3 separate regions of the Homo sapiens genome follow, and all the other regions are linked to region 1. The links are contacts of gene promoters, found by promoter capture Hi-C in human tissues and cell types (Jung and others, 2019). All regions are on one chromosome and are shown on one strand. The core of a region is centred on a gene start or on the middle of the fragment in contact, and the rest is flanking DNA. Distances in the headings are between cores, read along the strand shown.

Region 1 (2,700 bases), core at 74-2,573:
TTGTTTCTCATCTATTATCTAACATCTATCAACATCTATCTATCATCTATCTATCTATCTATCATCTATCATCTGTCTATCCATCATCTATCTATTCTTCTATCATCTATCATTGATCTGTCTATTATCTATCATCTATTATCTATCTATATCTATCATCTATCTACTATCTTCATAATCTATCATCTGTGTATCATCTGTCTATTATCTATCTATCATCACCTGTCTGTCAAGAGACTGTCATACAGAGACAGTGATAAAGAGAGATCAAGACACACAGGGACAGAGACAGACAAACACAGAGATAGGGAGAGCCAGAGAGCACATCACAGAAAGAGAGAGGCTGACATAGACTAGAGAAAGAAAGAGACAGAACTAGACAGACACAGAGCTAGAGAAAGACAAGGGAGATTGAGTGGAGAGACAGTGAGATGGACACTGACTGAGAGACAGAGAGGGACATGGAAGGATGGAGAGAAAAAGGGTAAGAGGGACAGAGAGAGGGAGAGACAGAGCTAGACACAGAGACTGAGGGAGACGAGAATGACAGACAGAAACAGATACACAAAGACAGAGTCACATAGACAGAGATGGAGAGAGAGAGAGAGAGAATAAGAGAGGCAGGGAATATTAGAGCCACACAAAGAGACGGGTAGGCTGCAAAGGGCAGACCAAGAGAGACTGAGGCCGGGCACGGTGGCTCACGCCTGTAATCCCAGCACTCTGGGAGGCCGAGGCAGGCGGATCACTTGAGGTCAGGAGTTTGAGACCAGCCTGGCCAACATGGTGAAACCCTGTCTCTACTAAAAACACAAAAATTAGTCAGGCGTGGTGTTAGGCACCTGTAATCCCAGCTACTCAGGAGGCTGAGGCAGGAGAATCGCTTGAACCCAGGAGGTGGAGGTTGCAGTGAGCTGAGATTGAACCACTGCACTCCAGCCTCAAAAAAAAAAAAAAAAAAAAAAAGAGAGAGAGAGAGAGAGAAAGAGACGGAGACAGAGAGGAAGGGCACAGGCAGAAACAGTGACAGGAAAAAATCAAGTGTTGCCAACCATGGGGTTGCATTGCAGAGAGAGAAGCCACCTACTTGGTGAAGCACCAGTAAAGAAATCCCAGTGCTCAGAACAGGGACATGAGAGCTCTCAGAGGAAACAGCAAAAAAGATTCCTAGCCAGTCTCAGAGACAGAGATTGGAGCTGGCGACCCACCCTCTCTTGGGAGACACCCCCTCCTTCTCTGCCTCCCTCACCGGGGCCCTTTACCTGCTGAGCTGCAGGAGACACTGGCTGGGATGCGCTAGAGCCTGCAGCTCTGGGTGTGCTTGGGGGGTGGTGGGGCAGAGGTTGTTCTTAAGTTGTTTCTGCCCACACCCTCCTCCTTAACCCCACTTTTCTTGTTCTCGCTGTGAACTTTAAATCCCTCCCATCATCTTGCCATACCTTTCCTGCGGCCCTAGGGCTCACAGCCAGCTGGAAAGGTGCCGTGGGAGGGGGCTGCGCCTGGGGGCCCTCCTGGGATGGGGCAAAGCTTTCTTTCTTTCTTTGTTTTTTTTTTTTGCTTTGCCAGTTGGAGCCTGGGCCTGGTTTTGGGGTAGTCATGGGGCTGTCGCAAAATGATGGGCCAGGGATGGGGGCTGGGTTCCTTTGGTATTTGGGGCACTTGTTTCTTTTTCTCTGGGTTCAAGTCCATTTCTGCCACTGATGGGCCGAGTGGCCCTGGCTAAGTCCCTTTCCCTCCAGAGCTGGAGTTTTCTCTTTCTCTGGAAGCCTATTTTTTCATAGTTCTCCATGCTGTTCCCTGTCTCTTGCCGTGGGTCTCTGAAATGCTCTGTGTCTTGCTTTGCTTCTGCCTCTACAGTCTCTGCCTCTGAATCTTTTTGTCTCTCTGTGTCTCTGTCTCTCCCTCCTTTGGTGTCTCTGGGTCTTCATTTCTTATGCTCTCTGGGCTTTCTCCTTCTCTCTGCTTCTCTCCCTGATCTCCCTGTAAGTCCCTCTCAGTCACTGTCTCCTGATCTCTCTGGTCTCTCACTCTCTCTATCTCTCATGTCTCCACGAGTCAGACTGCACTTGGTGGGACTGAAGCCAAGCTGAGGCTGAAGGAGTGTTTAAGAAAAGGGCAGAGCTGGAAGCCACAGGGAAAAAGCCTCTCAGACTAGAATGACACTCTCTCCCACCACTGGCTCATAAACAGCCCTCCTCCTGCCCTCCTGAGCACCCTACTAGCCATGTCTACTCTCAGCTCCTGCCTTAGAAACTCACCCTAGTAGGCCAGGCGCAGTGGCTCACGCCTGTAATCCCAGCACTTTGGGAGGCCGAGGTGGGTGGATCACCTGAGGTCAGGAGTTCAAGACCAGCCTGGCCAACATGGTGAAACCCTGTCTCTACTAATAATACAAAAATTAGCCAGGCATGGTGGCTCACGCCTGTAGTCTGAGCTACTTGGGAGGCTGGGGCAGGAGAATCGCTTGAACCCGGGAGGTGGAGGTTGCAGTGAGCTAAGAACATGCCACTGCACTCCAGCCTGGGCAACAGGGTGAGACTCGGTCTCAAAAAAAAAAAAAAAAAAAAAAGAAGAAGAAACTGGCCCTAGTTACCCACCTCCTGGCCAGGTCACAAGGGCAGAATGCAAAACCTGGAGCTGGGCCAGGGCTCTGGTGCCAGGGGCTAGGCTGGGTGGAGAGCCCCTGCGGTCAAGGGTCTG
Region 2 (2,700 bases), core at 33-2,532, 36 kb before region 1:
GCCTGGCCTGCTAAACTTTTAAGAAATTTGCAGAAACTTTTTCTAAGCAGTTGTACGTTTTATACACCCATAGTCATGAACGAGAGTTCTGGTGATCCTTGCCAGCACTAGGTGCTGTTTGCATATTTCCATTTAGCCTTTCTTATGGGTGTGTGGTGGTATCTCAGTGTGGTTTTAATTTGTGTTTCCTGTTGGCTAATGACATTAAACACCTTTTTATAGCCTGTTGGCCATTTTTTGGTTGGGCTTTTTTTTTTTTTTTTTTTTTGGAGACGCAGTCTCACTCTGTCGCCCAGGCTGGAGTGCAGTGGCGCGATCTCGGCTCACTGCAAGCTTCGCCTCCCAGGTTCACGCCATTCTCCTGCCTCAGCCTCCCGAGTAGCTGGGACTACAGGCGTGTGCCACCATGCCCGGCTAATTTTTTGTATTTTTTTAGAAGAGACAGGGTTTCACCATGTTAGCCAGGATGGTCTCGATCTCCTGACCTCGTGATCCACCCCACCTTGGTCTCCCAAAGTGCTGGGATTACAGGTGTGAGCCACCGTGCCCGGCTGGTTGGGCTTTTTTTTTTTTTTTTTTATTGAGCCATAGGAGTTGTTTAGATATTTCAGGCACGGGTTATTTTGTGAGATATATGTGTTGTGAATATTTTCTTCTGGTCTGTGCCTGGTCTATATATCTTCTTTTCTTTTCCTTTCTTTCCTTTTTTTTTTTTTTGATGGAGTCTCTCTCTGTTGCCCATGCTGGAGTGCAGTGGCACAATGTTGGCTCACTGCAACCCCTGCCTCCTGGGTTCAAACAATTCTCCTGCCTCAGCCTCTTGAGTAGCTGGGATTACAGGCGTGTGCCACCACACCCGGCTAATGTTTATATTTTTAGTAGAGATGGGGTTTGGCCAGACAGGTCTCAAACTCCTGACCTCGGGTGATCTGCCTGCCTTGGCCTCCCAAAGTGCTGGAATCACAGGTGTGAGTCACCACGCCTGGCCGGTCCGTATATTTTCTTAATGCTGGTTTTGGATGAGCAAAAGTACTACTATTATTTATTTATTTATTTTAAATATAGAGACTGGTTCTCACTACGTTGCCCAGGCTGGTTTAGAACTCCTGGGTTCAAGCAATCCTCCCACCTTGGCCTCCTAAAGTGTTGGGATTAGAGGCATGAGCCACCGTGCCTGGCTGAAAGTATTATTTTTGACTAAGTCCAGTTTGTCAATTTTTTCCTTTATGATTAGTGATTTTTGAGTCCCATGTTAAAAAAAAAAAAAGATCTACTTCAAGGTTTTGAAAATATGTTTTTAGAAGTTCTTTAGCTTTAGTCTGTACTTTTAGATCTCTGACCTATTTCAAGTTAATTTTTGTGTATGATGTGAAGTAAAAGGCAGGGTTCGTTTTGTTTCCATGAGGCTATTTAGTCATTCTACCATTTGTTGAAAATACTGGCCAGGTGTGGTGGCTCACACCTGTAATCCCAGCACTTTGGGAGGCCAAGGTGGGTGAATCACAAGGTCAGGAGTTCGAGACCAGCCTGGCCAACATGGCGAAACCCCGTCTCTACTAAACATACAAAAATCAGCTGGGCATGGTGATGCATGCCTGTAGTCCCAGCTACTCGGGAGGGTGAGGCAGGAGAATTGCTTGAACTGGGACCCGGGAGGCAGAGTTTGCGGTAAGCCAAGATTGAGCCACTGCACTCCAGCCTGGGCTACAGAGCAAGACTCCTCAAAAAAAAAAAAAAAAAAAAAAAAGAAAAAAAAAGAAAAAGAAAATACTGTCTTTTCTCCACTGAATTATCTTAGCATCTTTGTCAGTAATCAATTGAAAGCAGGTGAGGGAGGCTGAGGCAGGAGGATCGCTTGAGTCCAAGAGTTTGAGACCAGCCTGTTAAACACAGTGAGACCCCCAACTCTAAGAAAAAAAAATTCTATTGACCACATATTTATGGACTTCCTAGTTTATTCCATTCATCTCTTTCTATCGGAATCCCAGTACACCTTGCCTTTATTACTGTAGTGTGTGTGTGTGGTTTTTTGTTTTTTTGAGACAGAGTCTTGCCCTGTCACCCAGGCTGGAGTGGAGCAGTGCCATCATGACTCACTGCAGCCTAGACCTCCTGGGCTCAAGCGGTCCTCCCACCTCAGCCTCCTGAATAGCTAGGACCACAGGCACATGCCATCATGCCTGGCTAGTTTTTTAAGTTTTTGTAGAGATGGGTTCTCACTATATTGCCCAGGCTGGTCTTGAACTTCTAAGCTCAAGTGAACTTCTGGGCTCTTGCATTGGCCTCCCAAAGTGGTGGGATTACAGGCATGAGCCACAGTGCCCAGCCTATTACTGTAGTTTTATTATAAATTTTGATATTAATATAAATCCTTCCATTTGGCTTTTCTTTTTCTTTTTTTTTTTTTTTTTGAGACGAAGTTTCACTCTGTCCAGGCTGCTGGAGTGCAGTGGCGCGATCTTGGCTCACTGCAAGCTCCACCTCCTGGGTTCACGCCATTCTCCAGCCTCAGCCTCCCAAGTAGCTGGGACTACAGGCGCCCACCACCACGCCTGGCTAATTTTTTTGTATTTTTAGTAGAGACGGGGTTTCACTGTGTTAACCAGGATGATCTCCATCTTCTGACCTCGTGATCCACCCACCTCGGCCTCCCAAAGTGCTGGGATTACAGGCATAAACCATAAACCACTGTGCCCGGCC
Region 3 (2,938 bases), core at 235-2,734, 59 kb before region 1:
GCCCTTCTGCTCTCCATGCTTTTTCTGTGCTAGGTGTGGCACCGAAATCTTACAACAGCCCGAAGTCGGCACCTTTATGATCTCCACTTTATTATGCTTTTCATAGGAATTCAGTTACATAAGTAATAGATGATTATGGGTTGATTACAAATTTCAGCCGGGTACGGTGGCTCAGGCCTTTCGGAGGCCAAGGTGGGAGGATCGCTGGAGCTCAGGAGTTCGAGACCAGCCTGGGCAACATAGCAAGGCCCCCATCTCTAGAAAAAATTTAAAAAATTTAAAAATTAGCTGGGTGTGGTGGCAGACGCCTGAAGTTCCACCTACTTGGGAGGCTGAGGAGGGAGGATCGCTCAAGTTCGAGGCTGCAGTGAGCCATGATCGCGCCATGGCCCTCCAGCCTGGGCAAAAGAGCAGGACCTTGTCTCCAAAAAAGGAAAGAGAAAAATAAAATTTCAAAGACTACAGAAAAATAACTCCCTTTCTCCCTTCAACCCACTATTCCCTGGCTGCTGTCTATTTCAGTCCCACCCCCAGCTGTCCATCGCCGGCCACTCCTGCCATTACTATTGTTCTAAAGCTGCCAGAGTCAGCCTGGCCTGGTTCTATTCTTTTCTATCTTTCTAGAAGGTAAGACCCACTCTGGGTGGGTCAGGAGGTTAGTGTGTTACTTTTTTTTTTTTTTTTTTTTGAGACGGAGTCTCGCTCTGTCACCCAGGTTGGAGTGCAGTGGTGCGATTTTGGTTCAATGCAACCTCTGCTTCCTGGGTTCAAGTGATTCTTCAGCCTCAGCCTCCGGAGTAGCTGGGATTACAGGCATGTGCCACTATGCCCAGCTAATTTGTGTATTTATAGTGGAGATGGCGTTTCACCATGTTGGCCAGGCTGGTCTCGAACTCCTGACCTCAAATGATCTGCCTGCCTCGGCCTCCCAAAGTGCTGGGATTACATGCGTGAGCCACTGCGCCCGGCCTCTATGCGTTACTTTGGAGAAGTCACGTTCCTCTTTACACACCCATGTGTCCAAATGTGAAGTCCATTCCATCTCCATTTAGTTCCAGTTTTTATTTCAACATGCTGCAGCTTCCAGAATAAGGAGTAGCTGGAGAAGATCCAGAGTGTGGCATGCAGAAAGCCCCTCCACCAGTGCCAGGCACTGAGGCCCCAGGGAACTCCTGACCTCCGCTCCTTTATGCAGAGTTGATGCCAGGCCTGCATCCAGGCCTGACTGGGTGATGCTGGGGAGGCAGTAGAGACAGAGACAGCCCTACCCCCATGGGGCCCACAGTCCAGTTGAGGAGGCAGGTTAGTCACCAGACCTTGACTGCCCAGAGTGGTCGGGGCTGGGATGGGGGAGGCCAGGGGGCCTGTGGGAGCCCAGAGTAAGTGCCTGCCCTGGCCGGAGAGTGGTGAGTATCAGGGAGGGCTTCCTGGAGGAGGGGATACATGGATCTGAAGAATGACTCGAGAAAGATCATGGGGAAGAGTGTTCCTGCAGGGGGAATAGCATGTTGGGTGGCTGAGAGGGTAGCAGGAGGGATTGGAGGAGACCAGGGTTTTTGATGATGATTTCAGCACAGAGTGCTGGGGCTGTGGGGGAGGTGGGGGAACTGATTTCTCACCTCAGGGAGGGGCAGGACTTTGGAGGAGAGAGGAGAGCAAACATTCCAGGTGGGGAAACACCTGTTACAAGCCATAAGAGGGAGTGTATGGCGCTGGAGGCCCAGCAAGGCCAGTGTGGTTTAGCACAGATCCTTGCTGTGGACACAGAGTTGGGAGTCCTTGGCAGACAGACAGCAGATTCTGCAGCTCTGTGAGTGACCAGGCTCACCTGGGAGAGAGGGTGAGAAGAGGACCTGGTTTCTAGCATGTGGAGGTGGGGTGGGGGAGAAGGCAGAGCAAGGGAGACTGAGGGTGGGGACCCAGGAGGTGGAACACCGCCACCACCAGGAAGCTGGAGGAGGGGCTCTCAGCCAACTCCCCACCAGAATTTGTATTGTATAATTCTAAAAACGATGTCTGGTTAACATTTATTTTTATGTTCAAATGTATCTTTTTAGAATATTGTGCCAGTCTTGAAGATCACTGGAGATACTTCTACCTTCACCTACAATTTTCTTTCTTTCTTTTTTTTTTTTTTTGAGACAAGGTCTCACTCTCTTGCCCAGGCTGGAGTGCAGTGGCACGATCTCAGCTCCCTGCAACCTCAACCTCCCAAGCTCCAGTGATCCTCTCACTTTAGCCTCCCAAGTAGCTGGGACTACAGGCGCATGCCACCAGACTGGGCTAATTTTTGTATTTTTTGTAGAGACGGGGTTTCACCATGTTGACCAGGCTGGTCTGGAACTCCTGGACACAAGTGATCCGCCCGCCTTGGCCTCCCAAAGTGCTGGGATTAAAGGCGTGGGCCTCCGTGCCCGGCCCTGTTTTACTCTTTTCCTGGTGCCTTTTTTTTTTTTTTTGAATTGGAGTTTCGCTCTTGTTGCCCAGGCTGGAGTGCAATGGCGCGATCTCGGCTCACCGCAACCTCTGGCTCCCAGGTTAAAGGGATTCTCCTGCTTCAGCCTCTGAGTAGCTGGGATTACAGGCATGTGACACCACACCCAGCCAATTTTGTATTTTTAATAGAGATGGGGTTTCTCCATGTTGGTCAGGCTGGTCTCAAACTCCCCATCTCAGGGATCTGCCAAACTCCCCATCTCAGGGATCTGCCGCCTTAGCCTCTCAAAGTTCTGGGATTACAGGCGTGAGCCACTGCGCCCAGCCCTTCCTGGTGTCTTTGATGAACTACATTTGAATGTAGTCCAATTTATCAATCTTTTCAGTAATGTTTGTGCTTTTTTGTGTCATTTTTAAGAACACTTTTTCTCTCTTGGGGGCATAAAGATACCCTTCTAGATTATCTGTTAAAGCTTTTATTGTTTAGCTTTTCACATTGAGA

The links. The method cuts DNA at HindIII sites, captures the fragments that hold promoters and counts their contacts. A contact is called where the count stands out against the background at its distance.
Region 2: a contact is called between a fragment that was not itself captured here and the fragment with the promoter of CYP2F1 in region 1, in 2 of the 25 tissues and cell types used here (psoas muscle and spleen).
Region 3: a contact is called between a fragment that was not itself captured here and the fragment with the promoter of CYP2F1 in region 1, in 2 of the 25 tissues and cell types used here (IMR-90 fibroblasts and aorta).

Annotation. Positions count from the first base shown.
Region 1 is chr19:41,113,055-41,115,754 of GRCh38, reverse strand. It overlaps CYP2F1 (cytochrome P450 family 2 subfamily F member 1), which reads right to left and starts at 1,323. Exons shown (of 10, transcript NM_000774.5): 1 at 1,263-1,323. The HindIII fragment of the contact is 13,902 bases long and covers 1-2,700 here.
Region 2 is chr19:41,149,430-41,152,129 of GRCh38, reverse strand. The region is part of intron 2 of LOC124904790; the gene reads left to right. Among named protein-coding and RNA genes, the nearest start is that of CYP2F1, 36 kb to the right of the region's middle. The HindIII fragment of the contact is 5,706 bases long and covers 1-2,700 here.
Region 3 is chr19:41,171,482-41,174,419 of GRCh38, reverse strand. The region is part of intron 2 of LOC124904790; the gene reads left to right. Among named protein-coding and RNA genes, the nearest start is that of CYP2S1, 20 kb to the left of the region's middle. The HindIII fragment of the contact is 4,900 bases long and covers 1-2,938 here.